Linked DNA regions of Homo sapiens: region 2 is linked to region 1. Evidence: promoter capture Hi-C in human tissues and cell types (Jung and others, 2019). All regions are on one chromosome and are shown on one strand. The core of a region is centred on a gene start or on the middle of the fragment in contact, and the rest is flanking DNA. Distances in the headings are between cores, read along the strand shown.

Region 1 (5,723 bases), core at 1,796-4,295:
TAAGACCCTGTCTCAAAAAACAAACAAACAAAAGAAGTCAGATAGTAAATACTTTGGGTTTTGCAGGACAAGAAGCAAAATTGAGGATGTTACGTAGGGGCTTTCAAATAATTTCACATGTCAAAAAGTGTTCTTCTTCTTCTTCTTCTTCTTCTTTTTTTCCATCATTCTCAGCTTATAAGCTGTGCAGAACTGACAGCAGGCTAGTTCGGCCCACGACCTATGGTTTGCTAGGCCCTAATTTAAAGCAACTTTTTAAACTTTGATGTTATAAAAATTGCCTGATACACTTGTGAAAGCAGTGTTTGGACACACACTCAGAGATTCTGATGAGAAGGTCTGGGTGGGCCACTGAATTTGCATTTCTAACTGGTGGATCAATGGTGCTGATGCTGCCCGTCCACCGTCCACATTTTGAGCAGTACTGATATTCTAAAGTGTCCCTTTTCACAGATGAGGAAACTGGCTTAGCTAAGTGATATGTCCATGTACACCCTGTGGACTAGGTAATGACATCTGCTCTGCCACTCCACAGGGCTGTTTTGCCACAGAAAACTCCTCTCTGATTCTTTAACCCACTGCTACCCTCATGCTTCTGAGCCTTTGTCTTCACTCTTCTCTCTGCCCCATGCCCACCCTCACAAACGTAACTGTCCTGTCGAGACCAAGCTCAGGCGTCAGCTCCATTTAAAGTATTTCCTGACCTCCTCAAATCTAAATTCTCCTTTCTGCAACAGTATCTGTACATACTTGTGTATAATGTGTATAACTGTTTGTCTGCATGCCTATCTTTGTTTTTCGATTTTTCGTTTTGTAAAAATGGGGATCTTGCTAGATTGCCCAGGCTGGTGTTGAACTCCTGGCCTCAAGTGATCCTCCCACCACAGCTTCCCAAAGTGCTGAGATTACAGGCGTGAGCCACGGAGTCCAAGAATTGCTTGAGCCCAGGAGTTTGAGACCAGCCTGGGCCACATAGTAAGACCCCATCTCTACAAAAAAAGAAAAAACAATTAATTAGCTAGGCTTGGTGGCATGTGCCTTGTAGTTCCAGCTACTCAGGAGGCCAAGATGGGAGGATTGCTTGAGCCCAGGAGTTCAAGGTTGCAGTGAGCTGTGATTGTGCCACCGCACTTCAGCCTGAGCAACAAAGCAAGACCTATCTTTAAAAAATTTAAAAAAGGAAACACAAAAGGAATGTAGGCCCGGCACAGTGTCCCACACCTGTAATCCCAGCAATTTGGGAGGCCGAGACAGGCAGATTGCTTGAGCTCCGAAGTTTGAGACCAGTCTGGGCAATATGGAAAAGCCCTGTCTCTACAAAAAAAAAAATAATAATACAAAAATTAGCCAGGCATGGTGGTGCACACCTGTAGTCCCAATTACTAGGGAAGCTGAGGTTGGTGGACCACTTGATCCTGGGAGATCAAGGCTGCAAAGAGCCGAGATCATGCCACAACACTCCAGCCTGGGCAACAGAACGAGAACTTGTCTTGGAAAAAAAAAAAAAGAATCCATGGATGGATCATAGATGGATGGATGGATGGATGGATGGATGGATGGATGGAAAGATGGATGGGTGGATGGGCAGGTAGATGTATGAATGGCTGGATGGGTAGATGAATGGTTGGGTGGAAGCATGAATGCGTGGGTGGGTAGATGGATGGATGGGCAGGCAGGTGGGTGGATGGATGAATGGATGGATGGACGGGTGGGTGGATTGGTGTGTGGATAGATGATGAGTGGATAGTTGGATGGGTGGATGGATGGATGGGTGGGTGGATGAATACTCCTCATGATCTATTGCTTGAAAATAATTTTCATGGCAAAGTTAAGACTAGACCCTAATTCTGCTAGAGTATATTCCATGGCTGTTTATGTTGGGGCATACCGAACATGCTAATGGTAGTAGTTATATTTTATTGTGTGTTGAGTGTGCACTTACATGGCAGGCTTTGTACTAAGCACTGCCACTAATCCTCTCAATAACCCCTTTATTAGCTCCATCTTTACTACAAGAAAATGGAAGCTCAGAAAGGTAGAGCAGCTTGCCCAAAACCACACAGCAAATCACTTCCTAGCCCATCTGATTCTGTGCCAATTGCCGGTCGCCTTTCCCACCCTCCACCAGGGTTTCTCACCCTCCCTGGCTCCACCCCACCTCTGCGGGCCCCCAGCTGGCCTCACCTCCATCAGCATAGGTCTCGGTGCCATAGCCGTCTTGCAGGCCATTGTTCCAGGTGCCCTCATACTTGGCACCGCTGCTTGAGCTCTGCCGGATTCCGTAGCGTCCCTTGAAGCCATGTGTCCACTCGCCCTTGTAGAGCCAGCGCCCCTTGGTCTCTATGCCCAGCCCATGCCGTTTGCCCTGGCTCCAGTATCCCTCAAAGGTGTTTCCGCTGGGCCAGGTGTAGACACCTGCCACCTCAAAGCCAAAGTTCCAGGAGCCAGAGTATTCGCCCTGGCCCTTGGGGCCTGTGCACAGTCCATGCCCATGGGCCTTTCCCCCCTCCCAGCCCCCGCAGTACGCCCCTCCATCATCAAAGTCGAAGCGGCCCCCACTCATCTCATCATAGCCCCTGACAACCTCCCCGTCCTCCAGCGTGGGTGCAGAGGGCGTGGGTGATGCCTGCAACACTCCTCCAGTGCCCTCGGGGGCAGGCCCCCAGACTCACCACTGCACCCCAGGAGGGGGGAAGCAGGATGCCAGCAGAGGCTGAAAGAGCCCCGGCGCCAAGTCAGCACCGGGTCGGCTAGTCAGTGCCATGCCCGGGAGCCCCGACTCCACCAGCCAGAGCAAGGCTGCCTGCTGGAAAGAAAGCAGGAAGGAAAGGTTCAAAGTCCCCACAAAGCGTCCCAAGTCTGCCTTCCAAGAAGTCCAAGGGAAAACGGTGTGATCTCTTTAAGAAGCCCAGTGAAAGGGTGGGGTGGAGGGGTCCCCAGCCTTTTCAAAGAGGGGAAATTCCCCTCGGTGGCAGCCCCCGCCGGAGGCTGAATTCCCGCAGCCCGCTGGCCCCCTTCTCCACCCCAGTGGGTGTGCGGGGCTGTCGGTCTCCCCGCCGCTGCCCCGCCCCCTTCTCCAATCCTGCCCTCCTTCTGGGACGGAAAGGTCAGTGTTGCCCTAACAAGGCCATTGGATCTCAGAAGCTGCTCCCAAAATAACCCCCAGCCAGCCCAGCCTTCTTCAAAGCGGGAAGGAGGGGTATTTCAAATCGCGCCCGTGCCGCAGACCCGGGCAGTGGCTGGAGGCATGAGGAAGGAGGCTGAGAACTGAGTGCAGGCAGCCCAGGGAACCTGGTGTCTTTTCCTCCCGGGAATGAGAGCTCCCTTCCATTCTCAGAGTCCCCTGGGTCTGCGCGCAGGGAGGGCACCGGGGAATCGGGGAAGGGAGGGGAGAGGGAGACCAGCAGAACACCCAGTCCTGGAACACTGAAAATCCCCCAGAGCGAGGAGGTTGGCAGATCTCAGCCCCATCACCACTCACATGCCCTAAGGGGACCTGGGGTTACAGCACCACTGCCAGCCCCATCAAGGAATCCAGTGACCTAAAGAGAAAGGAATGGAGACAGTTTCACATGTGCTTCCGAAAGCAGAGGAGGGAAGTCAGAAAGAGAGGGGAGGCTGTGGAAACAGGGTCTGGAAGATACACAGAATCTCAGTCCAGTGCTCACTCACCACCCTGAGCTCCCTCCACCCCTGGAAGCCGGGGAGAACTTGGTGCAAGAAGCAACCATCTATTCCCTTTCTCTTTCTCCTGAAGGGCAAAGAGAAGGGAGAGGAGCCTGCCCTCCTCTCTGCCTGAGACACAGACTGGGCGTCCCGCTAGCTTCCTCTCCCCACCCCTTGATGCCTCGGCGCCCTCCCTGCCCCCTGCCGCAGACCCAGCAGACCCTGAAGGTCAAAGGAGTCCCCTTCCTGTCAACACAGGGTTGTGTTGTAATGAGGTCCTCTCAGAAATTCTCAAGGGTCATGATTTTTTAAAATTTCCCTTTCTGAGCTGTCTTTTGCTCTAGTGTCCTAGGAGCCTGTGAGGCCAGACTTCAGAAAGCTCTTGGGGCAGGGCCAGGAGAGAAGGGCCTGGGTGGATTCCCAGCCACTCAGGTTCCCACCAAACTCCAGTAAAAAGAACAAATAAATCTCCATGGCAAGAAGCTGTGGCCAGAGCTAATGATTGTAAATCCCAGCTAAGCCCAAGGTTAATGGGAGTATAGAGGAATTCTGGGAAAGGTAAGAGCCACCAAGACTAGGAAGATCTGTGTGTGTGTGTGTCTGTGCGTGTGTGTGAACGTGTGTCTGTGAGAGTGTGAGAGAGTGTGTGTGAGTGTATGTGAGTGTGTGTGGTAAGAGTGTGTGTGTTTGTGTGTGTGTGGTAAGTGTGTGTTTGTGTGAGTGTGTGTGGTAAGAGTGTGTGTGTTTGTATGTGTGTGTGGTAAGAGTGTGTGTGTTTCCATGTGTGAGTGTGTGTGTGTGAGTGTGTGTGTGAAGATGGGGACAGAAGAGAAAGAGAGAACTAAGCACAGAAGGTACTAGAGAACATTAGACAATTATCTGACTTTGAACTTATCTGACATATTTCCAAACCCCATGATAACTTAGGCCACGTGAAGTCACTGCGGAAGTCTTGTTCCTGTTTGGGGAGTGGGTAAAAAGTGTTCCCTGCTTTCCTTCCAGTGGGTTACCTGTTCTTAGGACTTGGTTCCATCCTTGGTCACAGCCGCTGACCTTCAAGAGCCCCTTCTATATCTGCGTTTCACCACCAGGTAGAGGCACCCAGCCTCTTGGGCTCACTGTCACCGTCTGTTTGCCAAGCTGACAGGGAGCACGTAGTGGATAAAAACTGTTTCCTCTGGGTGGTTAGGTGTGAGCCCTGGCCAGGCTGACTGACAGCCTGCTTGCACAATTCACTTCTAAGAACATCTCAGGGCTACTCCCAGGGAGTTCTGCTTTCGCCACTTCTCACTAGGTCTTTGGAGAATCACAAACTTCTTTCTAGCTCTGCTGTCAAGGGAAGAGCATCTCAAACTGGAAGCTAGGGGAGTTTGAGCTGCAGATTCAATACCGTAATCATATGTTTATGCCAGGCAGCCATTGCTACATCTTAGCAGGGTGTTCTACCTATGGGAATTTAACCACTGTTCATCCATAGCAGCTCCCTAGGGTAGCTGTCTACCCAGGGTTACTACACATAAGAATCACTTACAGACTTAAAAACATAAAGAGATCCGAGAGCCCCACCCGAGACCTACAGAATTAGATTGTCCTGGGAGAAGACTTGGGCAGTCGAATTCTTTTAAAAGCTCCTCAGATGAATCTGATTTTCATCTCTGGTTAAAAACACTGTAAGTGCTTGTTATAGTGGCTCACACCTGTAATCCCAGCACTTTGGGAGGCCAAGGCTGGAGGATTGCTTGAGCCCAGGTGTTTGAGACCAGCCTGGACAACACAGTGAGACCCCGCCTCTACAATTAAAAATTTTTTTTTTTAATTAGCCAGGTGTGGTGATACACATCTGTGGTCCCAGCTACATGGGAAGTTGAGGCAAGGAGGATCGCTGAGTCAAGGAGTTGGAGGCTGCAATGAGCCATATTTGTGCCACTGCACTCCAGCCTGGCAACCCTGTTTCAAAAAATAAATAAATAGATAGAAAACAACAACAACAACAAAACCAAGGTAAAATTTCAAATTAAGATACTGTTTAATAACATAAAAATTCATGAATCCATTTA
Region 2 (5,723 bases), core at 1,663-4,162, 200 kb after region 1:
CTTGAAGAGCTTATGATTTTAGCAAGGTCCAACAGCTATGTAAATGGCACCACTGATATTTCAAAGGCAATGGCCCTGACCACTCTGCTACACCACCTTTCTCTCCTCTTCTCCAATACCCAGCCCAAAACTCTTTTGGATCTTTGATTATTCTTCAAGGGGCATAGCTTTCTTTCTTTCTTTCTTTCTTTTTTTTTTTTGAGACGAACTCTCGCTCTGCTGCCGGGCTAGAGTGCGGTGGCGAGATCTCGGCTCACTGCACCCTCCGCCTCCCAGGTTCAAGCAATTCTCCTGCCTCAGCCTCCCAAGTAGCTGGGACTACAGGTGCGTACCACTACGCAAGGCTAATTTTTGTATTTTTAGTAGAGATGGAGTTTCACCATGTTGGCCAACATGATCTCGATCTCTTGACCTCGTGATCCGCCCGCCTTGGCCTCCCAAAGCGCCAGGATTACAGGCATGAGCCATGCCGCTGCACTCGGCCTAAGGGGCATAGCTTTCTCATCCTCTGCCATCCTAGGAAAATTTTAAGTATTCATATTAAAATGAAAACTAAACACAATTGTCCATATATGCTCCTTAGGAGTAGAATGCCAAGGACCTCTTAGCTCCTCTGACCTGGGAACTACATTCTCTCTAATGATACATACGACTGGGTTAGAGGTTTGGGCAGCTGCCACCAAGTAAAACCTCTAGAATTTTGCTATGTCACTTTCTGCTAAGGTAGCTTTTCCCATCTACACTAAATAAATAAATCATCCAGGTGATTTATTTTTAACCAATGCAGAGGATTTTTTACTTATCTCCATGGAGTTCAAACATTTCTCCAGGCTGGGTGGGGTGACTCACGTCTGTAATCCCAACACTTTGAAGACTAAGAAGGGGCAGATTGCTTGAACCCAAGAGTTCCAGACCAGCCTGGGCAACATGGTGAAATCCCATATCTACAAAATATAGAAAAATTAGCCAGGGGTGGTGGTCCACACATGTAGTCCCAGCTACTCTGGAGGCTGAGGTAGGAGGATCATCTGAGCCTGGAGACTTGGAGGCTGCAGTGAGCTGTGATGGCGCCACTGCACTCCAGCCTGAGTGACAGAGACCCTGTCTCAAAAAAAACAAACAATAATTCACCAAATCTATTTGGATCTGGATCCTGCCATCATTTTATAGGTAATGCCTCCATAGCACTCACTAAGTGCCAGGCACACTTCTAAGCCCTTTTTATACATTAACACAAATAATCCCCACCACGACCTAATGCCATACACATCATTATGGTCACTATTTTGCAAATAAGAAAACAGTCACAGAGCAGTTCAGTAACTTGTCCAGGGTCACACAGCTAGTCCATGACTGAACCAGAATTTAAGCCCAGGATGTCAAGTTCCAGAATTGGTACACTCAGCCTCAATACTGTGCTGCCTTCAAATATTCTGACAATCTTAGACAGCTTTGGGGATCCAAAAGATTGAGAAGTACTCTTGGGGACCTCTTTTTTTTTTTTTTTTTTAAATACGGAGTCTCAACTCTCTCCCCCAGGCTGGAGTGCAGTGGTACAATCTCAGCTCACTGCAACCTCCGCCTCCTGGGTTCAAGTGATTCTCCTGCCTCAGCCTCCCAAGAGGCTGGGATATTACAGGCACATGCCATCATGCCCAGCTAATTTTTGCATTTTAAGTAGAGACAGGATATCACCATGTTGGCTAGGGTGGTCTTGAACTCCTGACCTCAAGTGATCTGCCCACCTCAGCCCCCCAAACTGCTGGGATTACAGGCATGAGCCACCGCACCTGGCTCCCATTTTTTTTTTAAGACGGAGTTTCACTCTTGTTGCCCAGGCTGGAGTGCAATGGAGCGATCTCGGCTCACTGCAACCTCCGCCTCCCAGGTTCAAGCAATTCTCCTGTCTCAGCCTCCTGAGTAGCTGGGATTACAGGCACATGCCACCACACCCGGCTAATTTTTGTATTTTTAGTAGAGATGGGGTTTCCTCATATTGGTCAGGCTGGTCTCGAACTCCTGACCTCAGGTGATCTTCCCACCTCGGCCTCCCAAATTCCTGGGATTACAGGTGTGAGCCATCACGCCTGGCCCCTGGCTCCTTTTTTTTTTTTTTTTTTTTTTTTTTAAATAAAGACCAAAGGTCCAGAGGCTTTGAAAGGCAAATAGTATTAAGTCAGGATTTGATATCAGGATTTCTTTCATTCTGTTTATTTTCTCATTGCTTTCTACTTATGATACTGTTTCATTTGGTAGTAATAATATTTCTTTCTAAAATAAATTGAAGTAAAAAGAAGTGAGTTGATGTAAGAAAAATGTTACAGATATGAAAAAATCATAATGGTCATTAAAAAATTAGTGAAACTTTGGAAAGACTGTGTTCAGTCAAGTGAAGTGAAGTTAGCTTGCAACCACAAAAAAACCCCTAAGTCTCAATGGTTTGAACAGCAAAGTTAATTGCTCACCTATAGTACACGCCCAGCATGGGTCGGCAGGGGGCGCTCCGCGTTGTGGAACGATTCATATCTATACTTGCTTCCCCAACAAGGGCAGCACTGGCCTTTAAAGCTTCTGCCCAGGTGTGACACAGGTTGTTTCTGCTCACATCTCGTTACCTGAAACAAGTAACATGGTCACATCTCATTTCAAAGGAAGCAAGAAAATGTAATCCCCATCATGTGCCGGAAAGGAGAGAAATAGAATAGTTGAGAACAGCCCTCAGAGAGACTATAAGTAAGGGGGCATAAAAGATGGGTCTAGAGAGATAGGCTGAGTCATGACTCACTGAATTTGTCTGACGTAGATCATGATGGCCCATCCCACCAAGTGGCCAACATTTGTTCCCAGAAAAGGGAGTGTGATGATCCCCCAGAAAGAACACAGTCTGACAACATTATTCTGATGAGCAGACACACCTCTCAGGCTGCCACTCAGGAGTCCTTTTGGGTGGGGAGGTGGGGATGCTGATATTTCCTAAGTGGTTTCAGCTGAACTCTGTGATCTTTTTTTTTTTTTTTTTTTTTTTTTTTTGCCTATTCCCTGAAGGGAGATGAGGCAATTTGGGCTTTGGCTGAGCTAGGGTTTGGTTCTGTCACCACTTGCTATCTAGGGAAGGGTAATAATTGGAAAGGAGAGGAATTCAAGGAGAGGGTCCAGGTGGGTAGGGAGCCTCACACAGGGTTTGGTGATCAGGTGATTGAGAGGCCTCCTTGAGGAGTTTTCAAAGTGCGGTCTGAGGGCACCTGGTATCAGAAGTGCCCAGAAGCTCATTAAACACTTGGGCCAGGTGCTCCATGGCTCCTGCCTTTAATCCCAGCACTTTGGGAGGCTGATTTGCTTGAGGCTGGGGTTCAAGACAAGCCTGGACAACATAGCAAGACACCTCCCCCCGTCTCTATTTTTTAATTAATTAATTTGTTTGTTTATTAATTTATGGACTCTCACTCTGTCGCCCAGGCTGGAGTGTAGTGGCCTGATCTCTTCTCACTGCAACCTCCGCCTCCCAGGTTCAAGCAATTCTCCTGCCCCAGCCTCCCAAGTAGCTGAAATTACAGGCATGCACCACCACACCCAGCTAGTTTTTGTACTTTTAGTAGAGACAAGGTTTCACCATGTTGGCCAGGCTGGTCTTGAATTCTTAGTCTCCAGTGATCCACCTGCCTTGGCCTCCCAAAGTGTTGGGATTACAGGCATGAGCCACCATGCCCCACCTCTATTTATTAAATATTTTCTTTTTTTTAATCTGATGACTAGGCCCACTGTTGGTCCTGGCACCTGGAGGTAGGACCCCAGGCATCTGATTTTTTTTGTTGTTTTTTTTAAGGCAGGGTCTCGCTCTGGCGCCCAGGCTGGAGTGCAGTGGCACGATCTTCACTCACTGGAACCTCCACCTCCCAGGTTCAAGCGATTCTCCTGCTTCAGCCTCCCGAGTAGCTGGGATTACAGGCATGCACCATCACGCCTGGCTAATTTTTTTTTTAATAGAGACAGGGTTTCACCATGTTGGCCAGGCTGGTCTTGAACTCCTGAACTCAGGTGATCCACCCACCTCCCAAAGTGCTGGGATTACAGGCGTGAGCCACCGTGCCCAGCCACCATCTGATTTTTTTTTTTTTTTTTTTTTTTTTGAGACAGAGTTTTGCTCTTGTTAACCAGGCTGGAGTGCAATGGCACGATCCCGGCTCACCACAACCTCTGCCTCATGGGTTTAAGTGATTTTCCTGTCTCAGCCTCCCAAGTAGCTGGGATTACAGGCATGTGCTACCACGCTCGGCTAATTTTGTATTTTTAGTAGAGACGAGGTCTCACCATGTTTGGCAGGCTGGTCTCGAACTCCTGAACTCAAGTGGTCCACCTGCCTCAGCCTCCCGAAGTGCTGGGATTACAGGTGTAAGCCACCTCGCCCAGCTGCCATCTGAATTTTTAATAATGGCCCCAGATGATTCTTATGGACACCAAGATTTGAGAAGCATTGAATGACTGAGAGAAAATTTCTTGTAAGGGTAGAAGCCCAGCACAGTGGTTCTCAGTGGAGATAATTTCAACCCCCAAGGGACATTTATAAATGTCTGGAGATAGTTTTGATTATCACACCTTGAGGGTAGGGAAAAGTGCTGCTGACATCTAGTGGCTAGAGGCCAGACATGCTGCCAGGGACAATGTACAGGACAGTCCCCACGACAAAGAATTCTCTAGCCCAAATGTCATTAGTGCTTAGGTCAAGAAACCCTGGTTAGCCATTAAGAGTTTGAACCTTTCTAAATGTTGGAGCACATACGATTTTTAAATCTTCAATTTTTATTTTATTTTCCAAAATTTCTACTATATGCATAGAATCCTTTTCATTGAATACCTGTTACGCACCGAGCACTTGAAGTTTACATCACTATCAGTTCCTCTTGAAAGACCTTTTCAGTCATTCATCCAACAACTATCCATTAAACACTTACTAAAATGTATTCCAGGCCAGGTGTGGTGGCTCATGCCTGTAATCCCAGCACTCTGGGAGGCCGAGGTGGGTGGATCACCTGAGGTCAGGAGTTTGAGATCAGCCTGGCCAACATGGCGAAACCCCGTCTCTACTAAAAATTAAAAAATTAGCTGGGTGTGGATCCCAGCTACTCAGGAGGCTGAGGCAGGAGAATTGCTTGAACCTGGGAGGCGGAGGTTGCAGCAAGCCGAGATCGTGCCATTGCTCTCCAGCCTGAGTGACAAGAGCGAAACTTCATCTTAAAAAAAAAAAAAAAAAAAAAAAAAGAAGTATTCCAGGCAGAGGGGAAAGTATATGCAAAGGCCCCCAAGACAGGAAAGAAAAACTTTAAAATGGCTAGTATGCCTGCTGCTGATAGGGGTGGGGGCAAGTGGAATGAAATGAGGTTGGACACGGAGGGATATAAAAACAAGGGCGTGCATGGCCTCACAGTGTTAAGTGGGAGTTGTATGAGTTTTGTTATAAATGCATAGGAAGTCATAAAAATTTAAGTAGAAGAGGATCTGAGCCAATGTACATTTGTACAAGATCACCCTTGGCCCCTGAGTGAAGAGTAGGGGGTAGGGAAGCCACAGGAGAAAAAGTGAAGGGGTGGGGTGGAGGCAGGCGGGGGGGGGGGGAGGCGGGGGGGGCGGTGGAGCGGGGGAGATCCCCTCCCCAACCCTGGCAGGTTTAAAAAAAAAAAAAGGGAAGAAGTGAAAAGACTTTTGCAGACCTCCAGAGATGATGCATA

What was found. Contacts are between HindIII fragments. The study calls those that stand out against the background at their distance.
Region 2: a fragment that was not itself captured here is called in contact with the fragment with the promoter of JPH2 in region 1 in 1 of the 25 tissues and cell types used here (neural progenitor cells).

What each region holds. Positions count from the first base shown.
Region 1 is chr20:44,184,143-44,189,865 of GRCh38, forward strand. It overlaps JPH2 (junctophilin 2), which reads right to left and starts at 3,046. Exons shown (of 6, transcript NM_020433.5): 1 at 2,185-3,046. The coding sequence starts at 2,563. The HindIII fragment of the contact is 16,539 bases long and covers 1-5,723 here.
Region 2 is chr20:44,382,058-44,387,780 of GRCh38, forward strand. The region is part of intron 1 of HNF4A (hepatocyte nuclear factor 4 alpha); the gene reads left to right. It overlaps HNF4A-AS1 (HNF4A antisense RNA 1), which reads right to left. Exons shown (of 3, transcript NR_172878.1): 2 at 2,466-2,615. Among named protein-coding and RNA genes, the nearest start is that of HNF4A-AS1, 11 kb to the right of the region's middle. The HindIII fragment of the contact is 4,459 bases long and covers 684-5,142 here.